Regions from separate parts of the Homo sapiens genome. Here region 1 is linked to region 2. Evidence: promoter capture Hi-C in human tissues and cell types (Jung and others, 2019). All regions are on one chromosome and are shown on one strand. The core of a region is centred on a gene start or on the middle of the fragment in contact, and the rest is flanking DNA. Distances in the headings are between cores, read along the strand shown. Region 1 overlaps BCAS3 (BCAS3 microtubule associated cell migration factor). Region 2 holds the start of TBX2 (T-box transcription factor 2).

Region 1 (6,917 bases), core at 1,829-4,328, 300 kb before region 2:
CAGGCTGGAGTGCAGTGGCGCAATCTCGGCTCACTGCAAGCTCCACCTCCCGGGTTCATGCCATTCTCTTGCCTCAGCCTCCCGAGTAGCTGGGACTACAGGCGCCCGCCACCACGCCTGGCTAATTTTTTGTATTTTTAATAGAGACGGGATTTCACCATGTTAGCCAGGATGGTCTCGATCTCCTGACCTTGTGATCCGCCTGCCTCGGCCTCCCAAAGTGCTGGGATTAGCCACTGTGACCAGCCTCTTTATTTCTTAGGTTTATATTTAAGTGATGGTTTGGACTTTTGATAAAAAGAGAAATTGGAAAAGTAGCAGGGTGATTTTTAAGTTTCCTTGGCAGTGTGAGATCCCCATGTCTGAATAATCAAGAGGCTCTATGAGGAATCTTCAGGATATTTTTCAATAGACAGAAGTAAAAGAGATGGGAAACCAGTATTAATTTATAAACAGTTAGGTGCCCAACACTGTGCTAGGTCTTGCCACATGTCTCATCTCATTTAATCTTCTTTAATTAGGATCAAGGTCCATTTTAGCAATAGTCAAAGAACAGGACTTAGGACACCTAGCTCCTGATACTTAAAATTACTTAAAGTGCATTATGGTGACACCTCAGATAAGTCTAAACCTCTTTCTACCCTGCCTAATCAAATATTCATTTCAAAACACTGTATGCTGAAATGAGCCACGTGGGAGTTGAAGAGAATCAACTATTCAGGTGGTGAAAATGTGTGAATGCAGCTGGCAGATGAAGTTCCAGTGTGATGAATTCCCAGCTTGTCCTTATTGCTTTAGGCAACAACTGACAGGCCTGACTGGTCATTGGCTTTCCATTCCTGGCATTGATATGACTGAAAATTCTTAATGTCACAGATCCTTAAAAGCTGTCTCTGTTATCATGGATATAAATGGTGCTGGAGGGTCCTTCTTGCATAGAGAGGTAATCAATATGGTCTAGAGTTCTTGACCTGAACCTGTAATTACTTGGACATTTTGAAGGTAGCTTGTTGTTACAGAATATTCATATATTCAGAACATTGGGACTGAGTTGTGCATGGAGAGGAGAAAAATAGAGTCTTTGTCCCCCTTTCTGTTCTTAGTATTTAAGAGGCCTTCATAATCACAGAAGAGAGTGATATTATAGGATTAGAACATTGTATTTTTGGTTTTGGGTGCTGAAGTTCTAATCTTACCTCTGAAGTGATCCTGATATTTTGCCAAAGTTGTGACTTTAATATTCTGTGGCTTGTAATTGTGATTTTTCTAATACCAGAGTAGAATTCTGGGGAGGAATTTTTCTAAACCCAAATACCTCAATTTGAAGTGAGGCTTGGCTTTAAATAATAACACATTTGAGTTTGAGCTTTTCCTGCAATTAAGTGGTATGCTGCAAAAAGGAATTCGGTTAGCAGATTTTATGGCATCCATGATCCATGGACAAGAGTGAGTAGAAGGAGATGATACTGATAGCAATTCTTAAGTCTCTAAATGTTTTTACGTTGTTGTGATCAGGATTTCTTTGCCAAATGAAAACGGTAAAAGTGGAAGCATGAAACACCTTAACAGTAGGTGTGGATCCTGATTGTTCTGTTACTGCTTGGCTTAAGATACCCCTGGATGGGCTGGGTGTGGTGGCTCACACCTGTAATACCAGCACTTTGGGAGGCCGAGGCAGGTGATCACCAGGTCAGGAGATCGAGATCATCCTGGCTAACACGGTGAAACCCCATCTCTACTAAAAATACGAAAAATTAGCCGGGCATGGTGGCGCACACCTGTAGTCCCAGCTACTCAGGAGGCTGAGGCAGGAGAATGTCATGAACCTGGGAGGCGGAGCTCACAGTGAGCTGAGATCGCACCATTGCACTCCAGCCTGGGTGACAGAGTGAGACTCTGTCTCAAAAAAAATAAAAGATACTCCTGGATGGCATTATTATTGGATTACCTTATATGTAGCATGCTTAGAACAGAGGGGGAAAAATGATGGCTTATAATAAAGGACTGTTTGAGAACAAGGGCTGTCTTTGTATCTCCCTTTGCCTGGTATTGGTACCTTCCACAGAGCAGATAATCAATATTTCTTGATATCTGATTAATAATGATAGTCAGTGATGATTAATAATGATAGTCAGTGATAATCAACAATGATAACCATTGTTGATTTCTTATAAAACATAAGGCTTTAAATATCATAACATGATTACAAGTTGGTAATGCTGAGTCTTTATCTTCGTTACCTGACTTAAACCTGGTCCTCAGTTAGGTTTGCCCTTATGTTATGATCACTATTCCTTTGTATGGGCCTATGGTCAATTGTGTAATCAAGTGAAATATTTTACAAAGCATTTCAAATTATCTTTTATGTTATGCTTTTAAAGCAGCATTATGTTTAAACAGAATATTTCTTTGATACAAGCTTTCGTTCTATTAGGCTTAGCATGGAAATTTTTGTTTTAAGGTTATCTTTATAAAGCATTAACTCTAGCGAAGTCTTGCTTTCTGGAATCTATGGTCAGGACTGGTAAACATCTGTTGAAAAGAATGGACAGGCTTTTGCTTTCTGCTCTTACTAGGCTAACTTTCAGACATAATTTTAGGGATATTTTGGGCTGCCTTTGAAGCTAGCCCATTTTGGGCATAGGACATTGGCATATGGAGAACTGACCCTAAGTTCCATTAAGCCAAAACATTTTGTTGAAGAATTTCCAAAATTTTAGTGGTGTCATTACAGTTTAGTTACTTGTACTTATGCTCTAGACAGCTACAAGAAACATGGTAGAATTGACTTCTGTTGTATGAAGTGGCGTCTTGAGTCTTAAACCTATTTTACTTTGGTGTTCTACAATATTTGGAAAGGCAACAGTTATTATATAAATGTTCAATGTTAAGACTGTAGAGAACACTAAGTTACACTTGACACTTAGTTGAACTCCCCAGTCAGTTATCCCTTCTTTAGATGAGTTTATGTAGTTCTCAAATGAATGCTTGTAAGACTGGGAACAGAACCCATTTACTCTTCTGTTTCTCTCTACCTAAAGAGGAAATAGCGAACCCTATGATCTTCTATTTGGGCTACCTTTTCCTTTTCCTATGTTAGAAATTCATAGCCATGAGTCAGTACCTCAAATTAGAGTTTTTATAGCCATGAGAGGGACCCAGTTCCTGAATCAGACGGCTTAAGCCAGAGAGAACTTACTATGGTGCCTGACACTTTTCATTTCTCTTGAAACATGTTCTTAATCTTTCTCTTTATTCCAACTCACCCCCTTGATTAAATTAATTACTTTCTCATGTGTTCTTAAACTTTTACTGTTATGTGTACCATCTGATATTAAAATTAGTTGGGTATTGTTTTTCATTCTAGACTATGAGCTCATCTTTGTACTCCCCGTAGCTCCCTGAATGGTTTTGACACATAATAGGCACTCAGCAAATGTTAATGAATTCAATATTTCATCATGGAACATTGAAACCAAGTTCTTGCATTTGCCTGGAACAGTAATTACCTCCTCAAAGAGAAACTGTGTGGCTAGGGAGCAGAAGTGACAAGGAGACCATCTTTCCACTAGAGTCCTTTACAACACGGCCCTGCATTATCCATGCAAACATAAATTAAACTCTGTTTTTAACAACATACTTTTTAGATTTTTTGTTTTCAACAGTTGAAGATGCTGAGGTTAAGAGATTTAAATAACTTGTCTACTGTCACAGAGCTAGTAGATGGTAGAGCAAAGGTGTGAATCTGTGAAACCTTCATTTTTTCCCGGACCTTGAACAGCATCTCAGCCAACCTTGATTTCATTCATATAATCATCAGGGCATGTATGTGACCTAAGAACTATTTATATTTATTCTTTTTATCATATACTGTTGTATCATAGAGGACACAAAATACATCACCTCCACTCTGGAATGGCACCTCTATTTTAAAAGACCATTGGCAAAACCTCTCCGATGAGATTTTGATGATGGAAGAATGTTATATTCAAGACTCACCTAACTATACCTGCATCTCACAGATACTTATCCTTTAAGCAGTAAACAGTTATTTTCAGCTAGGAAAGCCACTCTCAATCAGGTAGTGGTTTCTTAAGCTGAAAAAGGCTTTCCACTTAAGAATCGTGATAGGCCAAGGTCATTACCTTTCCGTCTACTTATGGGAAAATTCAAACTAAAGGAATACCAGTGTTTGAAACTCACAATTCACTCTATAGTGGGGAGTGGGGGAGTGCAAGGCAAGCAAAGTGATTATATTTCCCTTAGAAATATTGTTAACTATTTTTTCAAAATATGGATTAAAGCTTAAAACATACCCAAAATACACTGATTCTAAATGGACCTGACACCTTGATCTTCAATCATGGAATAACATATGAGTGAGGATTCCCAATGGACCATTGTACACTACAATATTTATTACTATAAAGATCTAAGAGCTCTTAGCCACTTTCAAACTTTTAAGAGTTGTTCAGCTCTCATCCTCTTGACTTGTGTTTTCACATTTTAAAATTCTGGTTTGTTTTGTGTGATGTATTCAGAATTACCTCCCTACCTTGATTTCAGAATAATATTTGGCTTTTTAATAAATTTAAGGAAGTGCAGATATGAAAGTATACCCATTAATGCATGGGGACTGCAGTACCTTTAACTGGCCCATTTTTGGCCTCTGTTTATCCATCTGCAAAACGGTGACTAGGTTTTGCCTTCTAGTTAGTTGATATGATAAAAATACTAATAAATTGAAAGGCTGTGGGATGATACCTTTATCAGTTCCTTCTATGGATGGTGTAATTTTCACTGTAGTTTACTTTAGCATATATGGTCTCAAGAATAAAAATAAGGAATTACTAAGGAACCTCCTGAATGCAATACTATTAACATTCACAAAAATAGCTATATGCAAATTAGTAGATGTCCTTAGCTGAGACAAAATTATTTTGAGGTTGTGATCATGAAAATTAACGTAAGCTGATATAATTTTGAATTGTATGCATCTGTTTTCATGAAAGAAACCTATTTGGAGAGGTTTATTCTTGAAAAATTATGGAATTAAAAGTTAAATAGGATTCTTAACATCTGTTTTTAAATCTTGAATTATATGCAGCTCATAGAGTTTCTCTCCTGTATGCATATTAAATGATATATAATGAACTATCAGTGGTTTTAGGTAACATTTGGTTACTGAATACACTATGCTAAGCATTTCACGTGCATTATCACCTGTATTCACAAAATATTATGAGGTAAAAGCACTGTTACAATTTCCATTTTTTTCAGAAGAAGGTGTGATTTAGAGAAATTAAGTACTGTATACTACCTCCCAACTTTGGCAGTGTCATCTGAATTTTTTTGTCATGAACATGTTTTACATAGCTTGTTGTTAAAGTCCATTTTTGATAAATTTTTTGAATAGACGTGTGTAATGCAAGTGCATGAGCTTTGTGGTTAGGTGTAGATTTCATTCCCATTTCTGTAGCTGACTGGGTACATGACCTTGAGTTTCTTTGTCCATAAGAAGAGTATAGGAACATCTGTCTCTGATGTTGTAAAAATTAATAGATAATAAAAATCTTCTGGCCATAGTTCAGGTACATAACAAGGACTCATTAAATGTCAGTTGTCACCACCTTACCTTCTTTCCGTAAAATATTTCCTTTCTGTCTGTCCCAAAGTTTTAGTTTTGCTCTTCACGTGTATCATAATGTATTATGAGCATCCTAAGAAGATAGGTTATACTATTGTCCCCATTTTACAGTTGAGAAAACAGACTGAAATGTTGTAGATTCCTGGTTGAATCCCTATAGCAGTCTGATTCCAGAGCCTGTGTTTTTAGCTATAATGTGCTTTGGTATGAAGATATATTCCAATAACAGATTATATTCTGATATTTCAGACAAGAATCTAAATCCCAGAAATTATTCTCTTGTACCCGCATCCCTACCATTCAGTTCTTCCCTTCTTAGATTATGCTGGTATAACAGTGTATCTCCTTATTACTCTTGTAATAAATTTGTATATTAAATGCTCAAACACCCTTCTGATTCTAAAATCTGTGATCCTCTGTCATTTGGATACATTTGCAGTAGTCTGAGGCAGCTCTGAGAATCGTTTAAGGGAAAAGTATTCATCACTGTGGCTTTAGTAAGGAATATGTTGACATTTTTACTCTAACTCCAGGAACTCCTACTGACCTGAAATTAACCAGTTCATGGAGGTTTTTGGTGGGGACTAAGGAATGAAATTAACTCCCTAAGTCTCCTCTTCTTAAAAAAGAACCTCAAAATACTGCTGCCCAAATGGATTTAACTTTAGTTATATTTGTTTTTACATGCAAATACATTTTACTCAGCCTAAAAAGGCAAAGAAATGAAGCTATTTGGTTTGCAGAGGAACAGATCACTCTCCTGAGCATGTCAGACTGTTTATGTGTGTTTTTCACTCCATCTTACTCTGTCTTTGTCTTTCATGTTCTTTTTTCTGTCTCTGTTTCAGTTTGTCCTGTTTCTATTGCTCCCTCACAGCAACTATCTTCCTATTTTGATAATCCTGTTTCATCTCTATAAGGAAAAGGCTCTCTCAAGGATGCAGAAAATGTTACTATTTTTATAACAGTCCCTAAATACACAAAAGATTTTAACTTGGCTATAAAACTTTGTTCTTGGCATAAATTTGGCAGATAGTCTTTCGCCTGGGTGAGACTTTTCATTGGGATCCTGGAAGTGTTGGGATGTCACTATTCTCCACTCTTGCTTCTCCAAGTATGACATTAGTGGTTTTAGCTCTTGTTGACCCATCTTTAAACCAAAGCTTTATAGCCTATTAGAAGCACAGTGTGGATTTTTCTTATGATACGTTGGAATAAAAGAAAAAACTTTTCTAAAGTTACAAATGGTTTCATTTACCAAAATGACTAT
Region 2 (6,986 bases), core at 3,556-6,055:
ACACGCCTAGTGAGCCTATCCCTGTCTGCACCTGGCTGCTTCACACCCTGGCCAGTTCCCTTAGAGGGACCCAAATCCGAACTGACCTCCCTGTCCTGTGCCCCTATCCCATCCAGAATGCTGACCCCACTGATCCCCATCCTGACTCCATCAGGCTTCCTGCCTGGGCTGAGAGACTGAATTTGCAGCTGCTCCCTTGCCCCTGTGTAGCTGGAAGGCAGCCCTCCCACTGCAGACCTAGAACTGGAGGCTCTAGAGGCAAAGGGACAGTGCATCCTGTATGTCTCGAATTCAGAGCAAGAGCCCAGGGGAGGGTGGCAGCCCTGGCATCTCAGGATCACCTTGCTGTAGGAGCAGGGGTAGGCAGCTCAGCAGCACCGGCTTCTTAGGAGTGGGTTTGGACTTGCTCTCTTTAAGGTCCCAGGGTCCCATCCCAGCTCTGCCACCAGCAGGTACGTGGCCTTGGGTACATGACTGCACCTCTGGGATTCAGGGTCCTCATGTGTAAAGGAGGGAGTGGAGGGGAGAGAGCAGCATGCCCTTCCGAAGGCGCGACAGAGCAGAAGCAGGCAGAGGGGAAGCTGCGGGTCCACAAGGCAAACCCATGGTTCGAGGGGAAGTTGACAGCCAGGCCAGGTGCCCCTTAGCAGGGATGGGGAGGGCGGAGGCGGCACAGCTGGAGCCCGGATTGTGGCACGCCGTCACCGTGCTGCTCCGGGGAATCCCGACCCGCTCCCTGCGAAAGCGTTTCCGAACGCGAACCCAGAGCCTGTGAACGCGCCGGCAAGCCCCCCACTCCCCCACCGCCGCCCGTCGCAGGTGGGCCCGTCCTAGGGGTCCTTCCTGCGCTCTACCCCGTCTCTCAAGTCACTCAGTCGATCGCCCCGTTCACGCTCCCGTGATCCCAGACATCCATAACCACGATCTCGCCTCCATGCACATCCAACGCACGACGGTGCACAGACGTGCACCTGACTTCTGCGGACCAGGTGTCTCAAGCGTACAGCGGCCACCCGCGGAACCGCGGCCCGGGGCCAGTGAGTCGTCTGCAGCTCCCCGGGTTAGGGGATTCCCCAGAACTCCGGGAAAGTCACCCGAAGTCCATCCGGGATGCGGCCTTGGTTCTCGGCCGCGTGATCTCGCCCTTAGGTGCAGAACGACGCCCTTCCAGGGCCCACAGCTGCCAGGCTGGGCCTTGCCCTCGCATCCCCCGGGAAGACCAGGGACGGGGCCACACAGGCCGTGGCTGCGGAGACGCTTCCCCGGGCCACCCCGCGACCAGGAGGGAGTCGAGCCGCCCGCTCTCCCCGCGTCCCCCGCCCCATCCCAGCCAGTTGGCCCCACCCTGCGCGGGATAATTGGGACGGGAGGGAGGCGACGGGAGGGCGGCGGCTCCAGAGAGACTGCGCGCCTGTCAGCGGCAATTTGTTTAAGTGGACGGGACGGGCCGGGCCGCTGCGGGCTGGGGTCACCGAGGCCGCGGCCCCCACCCCAACCAGACCTGGGACCGCGGGGGAGCCCGGTCCGGCCGCTAAACCGGGCTGGCTGGCGCCAGGGCTCCGGGAGGTGCGGTCCGGCGGGGAAGCCGTGATGGGAAGCGACTCTGTCCAGGGAGTGTCCTTCACCACCACACTCCTCACGTCCAGGCAGTGATCGACGGCCTGGCGGCACCCTCACAGCGGGCCCATAGCACGGGGCCACACACGTCCCCTGAGCTTAGCCTGGGCACATTCGTCTGCCACCGAGGGCTTAAGCCAGTCTGCAGCCCGCGCCCCGTCACTCGGACGCAAGTCCGTCGTCCGCTCTGCCACGCGGCCGCACAGCCCGAGCTTCCTGCTGCCCACTGCCCGCGGGGTCACGCAACCCCGGCCCTGCACACAGAGGAGGAAGCGGCGGGGACCCCCTGCCACCTGGAGGCTCAACCCGGGGAAGGTCCCAGCAGTGCCCCTTAACCCTGCGAGAGGTGACGGGGCCGGAGGACGGAAGGGCAGCCACGCCAGGCTCAGGACCGCGGCCCCACCCGGCCCAGGCCGTCCCCGCTCCCGCCCCATTTCACTGTTGCGGGAAGCGCGGGGCGCACAGACCGCGCGCCACCAGCCCAAGCCCGCCCGACGCCCTGGCCGGAGACCGCCTGCGAGAGGGAGGGGCGGCCGAGCGCGCGTCCCCCGCCTGTCTGCGGGACCTGGCCGATGCGAAGTGACAGGGGCCGGAGCTTTGTTGTGGAGCCTCGGCCGCCTGGCGCCAGCCGCCCCCGCCCGCGCCCTCCCCCTCCAGCCCCGGGCGGCCCGCGAGGCGCCCCCCGGGGCCTCTTAAAGGAACACGCACACTCGGCCCCCGGGGCTCCGCCAGGGGAGGGGGTTCCTGGGAAGGGGGAGGGGGCCGGCCTAGGTGGGGGAGGGGCCCAGCGGAGGCCTCACGGCGCCGCTCCAGGGCCTCCCAGGCCTCCCCAGCGCCAGCTTTCGGTGAGCCTCGGGCATTCCTAGCTGGAGAGTTTGGCTGGGGGTCGCTACAGACTCTTCAGAGCGGCTGCAGCAGGACCTCAGGGTGATCGCGGGACCGCGGGGCGGGGCGAGTGGTGGGATCCTGGCCCGGACAGAGCCCCGGAAAGCCAGAGGGAAGGTCGGTGCCACTGTAGGTGGGGTCGCCGTCCCCAGATGCAGCCGCTGCACTGTCGCCGCCAGGTTTCTCGGTCAAATAACCCAGGCCTGAGTGTTTCAAACTCTTCAGGCCTCGGACCCCTGGACCAGCTATGGATGGACTAATGAAATGGACTAATGTCTAAAACGCACACATTTAGATGTACACATACTCTTACAAGGACAAAAGTATGTGTCTACACACACACACACACACACACACACACACACGCGCGCGCGCGCGCGCGCGACTTTGCGAATGTATTCACGGATTCCTAGGCCGGTACCTGGGTTCCCGGCTAAGGAAAGCTGCCCTGGTTATTATCTGGTCACCTCACCGGCTGCGCAAACGTGTCCACAACGGGTCCCTCCCCGAGAGGCCACATCTCGCCTAAGGTGGAGCCAGCAGGTATTTGCCTGTGGAAAACTGCAGTGGATCCTGCCCCGTCTGCGTAGACTGCGCAGCTCGGAGTCAAAGATTCGTTCTGGCCAGAGAGGAGGTACTAAGAGAGGTGCGACCTAGCCAAGAACGAGGTCGTGGAGAAAACCCTGTGGGGGCGGCGCTCACATATGCGGTGATGAGGAGTTGTGAGGGCCCTGGGGTCGGCCCCGAAAAGTAGGGATAACGGTCGCAGAGGCCATACTGCTTCCGCCGGTCCCGAATCCGCACTGCCAGGAGAGATCCGGCCTTCAAACGCTGCTCCCAACGTTCAACAACGAAGTGCCCTGCGACCGGTGTGCGCAGTGGGCGGGCGCCTGCATGGGTCAATGTTGGATGTACGCGCCCACCACGCGGTTGTACGGGTGGGAATGTCACCCGTGGCTAGTGCATGCTCTGTCTTTTCCTTCAGAAAACGACCTTCAGGAATCAGCCTGAGTGTTCGCGCCCGAGCCCGATTGGAAGCAGGTGCGTGGTCGCTTCACTCTCCCCGTGCACACCTTGAGTTATAGCTCTCGCTGCGCACAGAGGGCACCACACGGGGCCCGACACACACACACACACACACACACACACACACACACACACACACACCATCACTTCATGGGGGGGAAACTGAGGCTGCCGGAAGACAGAAAACGAAGACTGATCACAGAAGAGGGGGCTTCAATCACAGGTGCTCGCAGACACCCCAACTCCCTCACGCGTTACTCAGCACTCCTTAACTTAGGAGACGTGCGCTTCCGAGAGATGAGAAGAAACTAAAAAAGTGGTTGGCAGGGCGAAGAGAGGAAGCCGGTATTTCGGAAGAAGGAGACTTTCGTCTCCGGTACCGGATAGGGCGAAAATTCGTTGGGTCGCGGGTGGAGAATCCGGGGTCCGCCCGCGCGGTGCCGCCCTGTGCTCAGCGAAAGGTGCGCTCACCTTCCTGGCCCCGAGGATCCGCTCCTCCCGGCCGCTGGAAAGCTCAGGGCGGGGCCCGGGCCTGCGGAGAACTCCAGGTTCCTTCCGAGTCTTCCGGTGAAGGCGGGCGCGGGTAGGGGGTCCCCGCGTTTCCCCAGCGCAAGGCCGCGTCCCGCTCCCGCCCGCGCCGGCCCCAGCAGGGCTCGGCCATGGCTCCACTCACCAGCTCCCGCCACCTGGGATCCGCTCCCGGACCTCGGCCGCCCGAGCCTCCCGACTCGCCCGCCCACCGGCCTCGCTTTCCAGTGCCTGCTGTCTCTTTCCGGGGCGCAGGGACCCCCAGGCGGCGCCACGACCCGGAGCTGGGTCGGAGGCCAGGCTGGGGCTCGGGCCAGAGCGGCCGGGCCTCTGGGCGCGGGAGAAGGAGGGCGCCCCCTCTCCGCTCGGGGTCGTGTCAATGCTTTGCACTTGGGGCCGGCGTGCGGCTGCGGGTCCTTCCCCAAGGCCCCGGGACCCGGGCTCCCCTCGCCTCAGGCCCTTTCGGCGGGTCAGGTCGGCCCTCCGCGCTCTCCAGTCCGGCGCAGGCAGCCGCAGGCGCGGGCGGGCGGTGGGGGCCGGGGCAGGAGGAGGGGTCTCGGGGCCCGGCGGCCCGTCATTGGTTAATATTTTATTCTGTTGACATGTTTTCTTACTGCTGAGGCTTCCGACACCTTCTCCCAGGCCCCCCCTCCCGGCCGGAGCTTGGCCTGAGCTGTCAAAACCCCGCCCCCGGAGACCCACAATTGGTCCAAAAAGCGTAAAATCAGCAATCAAGGGGGGCCTGGCTCGTTAGCGCAGGGGATCCGAGCTGGGCAGGACATGTGAGATAGTCACAGTTTTCCAGAGATCACGACAAGATCTAACCAGTCGCGCGTGGTCCCCGGCGCCGGAGCGGGCCAGCTCAGCCCGGCCCAGCCCGGCCCCGCGCAGAGCCCCCGCCGCCCCCGCGCACAGAGCCGGGTGCCCCTTGCGGTGCGCCGGACGGGAAGCCCCGAGGAGCAGCTGCTGCGCCCGCCACCCGGGTCGTCCGTCCACCGCGCGCGCCGCCGCCCGGGCCGGGGGTCCGAGCCGCGCGCCCCCGGCCCCGGCCCCGGCCCCCGGGCGCCTGGGCCGGATGTCCCGATGAGAGAGCCGGCGCTGGCGGCCAGCGCCATGGCTTACCACCCGTTCCACGCGCCACGGCCCGCCGACTTCCCCATGTCCGCCTTTCTGGCGGCGGCGCAGCCCTCCTTCTTCCCGGCACTCGCGCTGCCGCCCGGCGCGCTGGCCAAGCCGCTGCCCGACCCGGGCCTGGCGGGGGCGGCGGCCGCGGCGGCGGCGGCGGCAGCAGCGGCCGAGGCGGGGCTGCACGTCTCGGCACTGGGCCCGCACCCGCCCGCCGCGCATCTGCGCTCCCTCAAGAGCCTGGAGCCCGAGGACGAGGTGGAGGACGACCCCAAGGTGACGCTGGAGGCCAAGGAGCTGTGGGACCAGTTCCACAAGCTAGGCACGGAGATGGTCATCACCAAGTCCGGGAGGTAGGGCTGCCGGCCGGCTGGAAGGCGCGCGGGCGGGCGGGCGGGCTGGGGCACGGGACTGCACGGATCAGAGCAGAGCTGGGGACTCCCGGCTCCCGGCTCCCGGCTCCAGGTTCTGGCCCTGACGCCACGCTTCGCTCCCACGGACAACCAAGTTGACTTTTCTCGTTTGGCACCGGAGCGATTTTTTTTTAAAACAAAAACGCTAAAATCCTCCGAATGAAATAAAACGAAAACATACTGCTAAAGAATAGCCCCAACCGTTCTGAGTCCCAGCGCAGAGGAGGCCCCGCGGCTTGGCCCTGGCGGTCTCCTCCGCCCCGCGCTCTCGCTCTTCTGCGTCCGGGTCCGTCTCCGAGCTCGGGGGAAATTCAGCCTCTCTCAGACTCTGCTCCGACCCCGAAGCCCCTAGTGGGACCTGGGCCCAGCTAACCCCACGCTGGTTGCTCGGTTCCTGGCAGCGAGCCCCGGGTCAGCCGAGCCCTCCGCCTCACCGGGCTGGGAGCCCTTTCTCCACCGCGGGCATCCGAGCCCTGGACGCATCCGCCGCCCCAGGCCTTAAAGCCTGAAGAAAGCCACAGCCCCGGCCCCTCCACCCTTCGACTCAGCCACCGAGAATCCAGGCCTCGGGTTCACCCTCTTCCCCCGAACTGCACGGCCAGGATGTCTTATCAGGCTCTGTAGCCCAGTTCCCAATACAAACACCCTCCAGATTTATTTCTGGGAGCTTCCGTCCCAAGTGGGTATTTCCCCTGAACGAATTTCGGGGAGATTAAGGAGAAGCGAGAATATTTCTAGAGGGCCTAGACTTCTCTCCTGGGCATCAGCTTTCATCTCAGATCAGGGAGAAAGAGGGTCCCCAGATCTGAGCACAAGGCCTAAAGGAGGCTGTTTAGGAGAGGGTCTGACAGGCAGAAATGGGATCTCCTGGGAGCAACAACCACAGGTGGGGTCGTCCGGGCAGTGATGAGAGGGCAGAGCAGCCGACCACAGGGGAAACAGCCAGGCGGCAGCGGTGTGCGCAACGAGGAGGGATAAATAAAGGAGGAGTGGGGTCCTGGAACCTAGAACAGCCGGTTCCAATGGGATCTCCTCCCTTCCCTCCCTCCCAGGCGGATGTTCCCCCCCTTCAAGGTGCGAGTCAGCGGCCTGGACAAGAAGGCCAAGTATATCCTGCTGATGGACATTGTAGCCGCTGACGATTGCCGCTATAAGTTCCACAACTCGCGCTGGATGGTGGCGGGCAAGGCCGACCCTGAGATGCCCAAACGCATGTACATCCACCCAGACAGCCCAGCCACGGGGGAGCAGTGGATGGCTAAGCCTGTGGCCTTCCACAAGCTGAAGCTGACCAACAACATCTCTGACAAGCACGGCTTCGTGAGTGTTGGGGCAGGGTGGGGACGGTGCAGGAGCTTGTTGACCCAGCACTGCAGCTGAGCAGGAGAGCAG

Evidence for each region. Contacts are between HindIII fragments. The study calls those that stand out against the background at their distance.
Region 1: a fragment that was not itself captured here is called in contact with the fragment with the promoter of TBX2 in region 2 in 2 of the 25 tissues and cell types used here (H1 embryonic stem cells and mesendoderm cells).

What each region holds. Positions count from the first base shown.
Region 1 is chr17:61,097,221-61,104,137 of GRCh38, forward strand. The region is part of intron 22 of BCAS3 (BCAS3 microtubule associated cell migration factor); the gene reads left to right. The region is part of intron 2 of BCAS3-AS1 (BCAS3 antisense RNA 1); the gene reads right to left. LOC124904041 (a long non-coding RNA gene) reads left to right here. Exons shown (of 2, transcript XR_007065871.1): 1 at 1-6,917. Among named protein-coding and RNA genes, the nearest start is that of BCAS3-AS1, 35 kb to the right of the region's middle. The HindIII fragment of the contact is 4,958 bases long and covers 600-5,557 here.
Region 2 is chr17:61,395,038-61,402,023 of GRCh38, forward strand. It overlaps TBX2 (T-box transcription factor 2), which reads left to right and starts at 4,806. Exons shown (of 7, transcript NM_005994.4): 1 at 4,806-5,534; 2 at 6,647-6,914. The coding sequence starts at 5,140. It overlaps TBX2-AS1 (TBX2 antisense RNA 1), which reads right to left and starts at 4,569. Exons shown (of 2, transcript NR_125751.1): 1 at 4,202-4,569. RefSeq lists an enhancer at 2,091-2,642, promoters at 3,763-5,023, 4,643-4,890 and a cis regulatory region at 4,879-4,890. The HindIII fragment of the contact is 8,441 bases long and covers 3,194-6,986 here.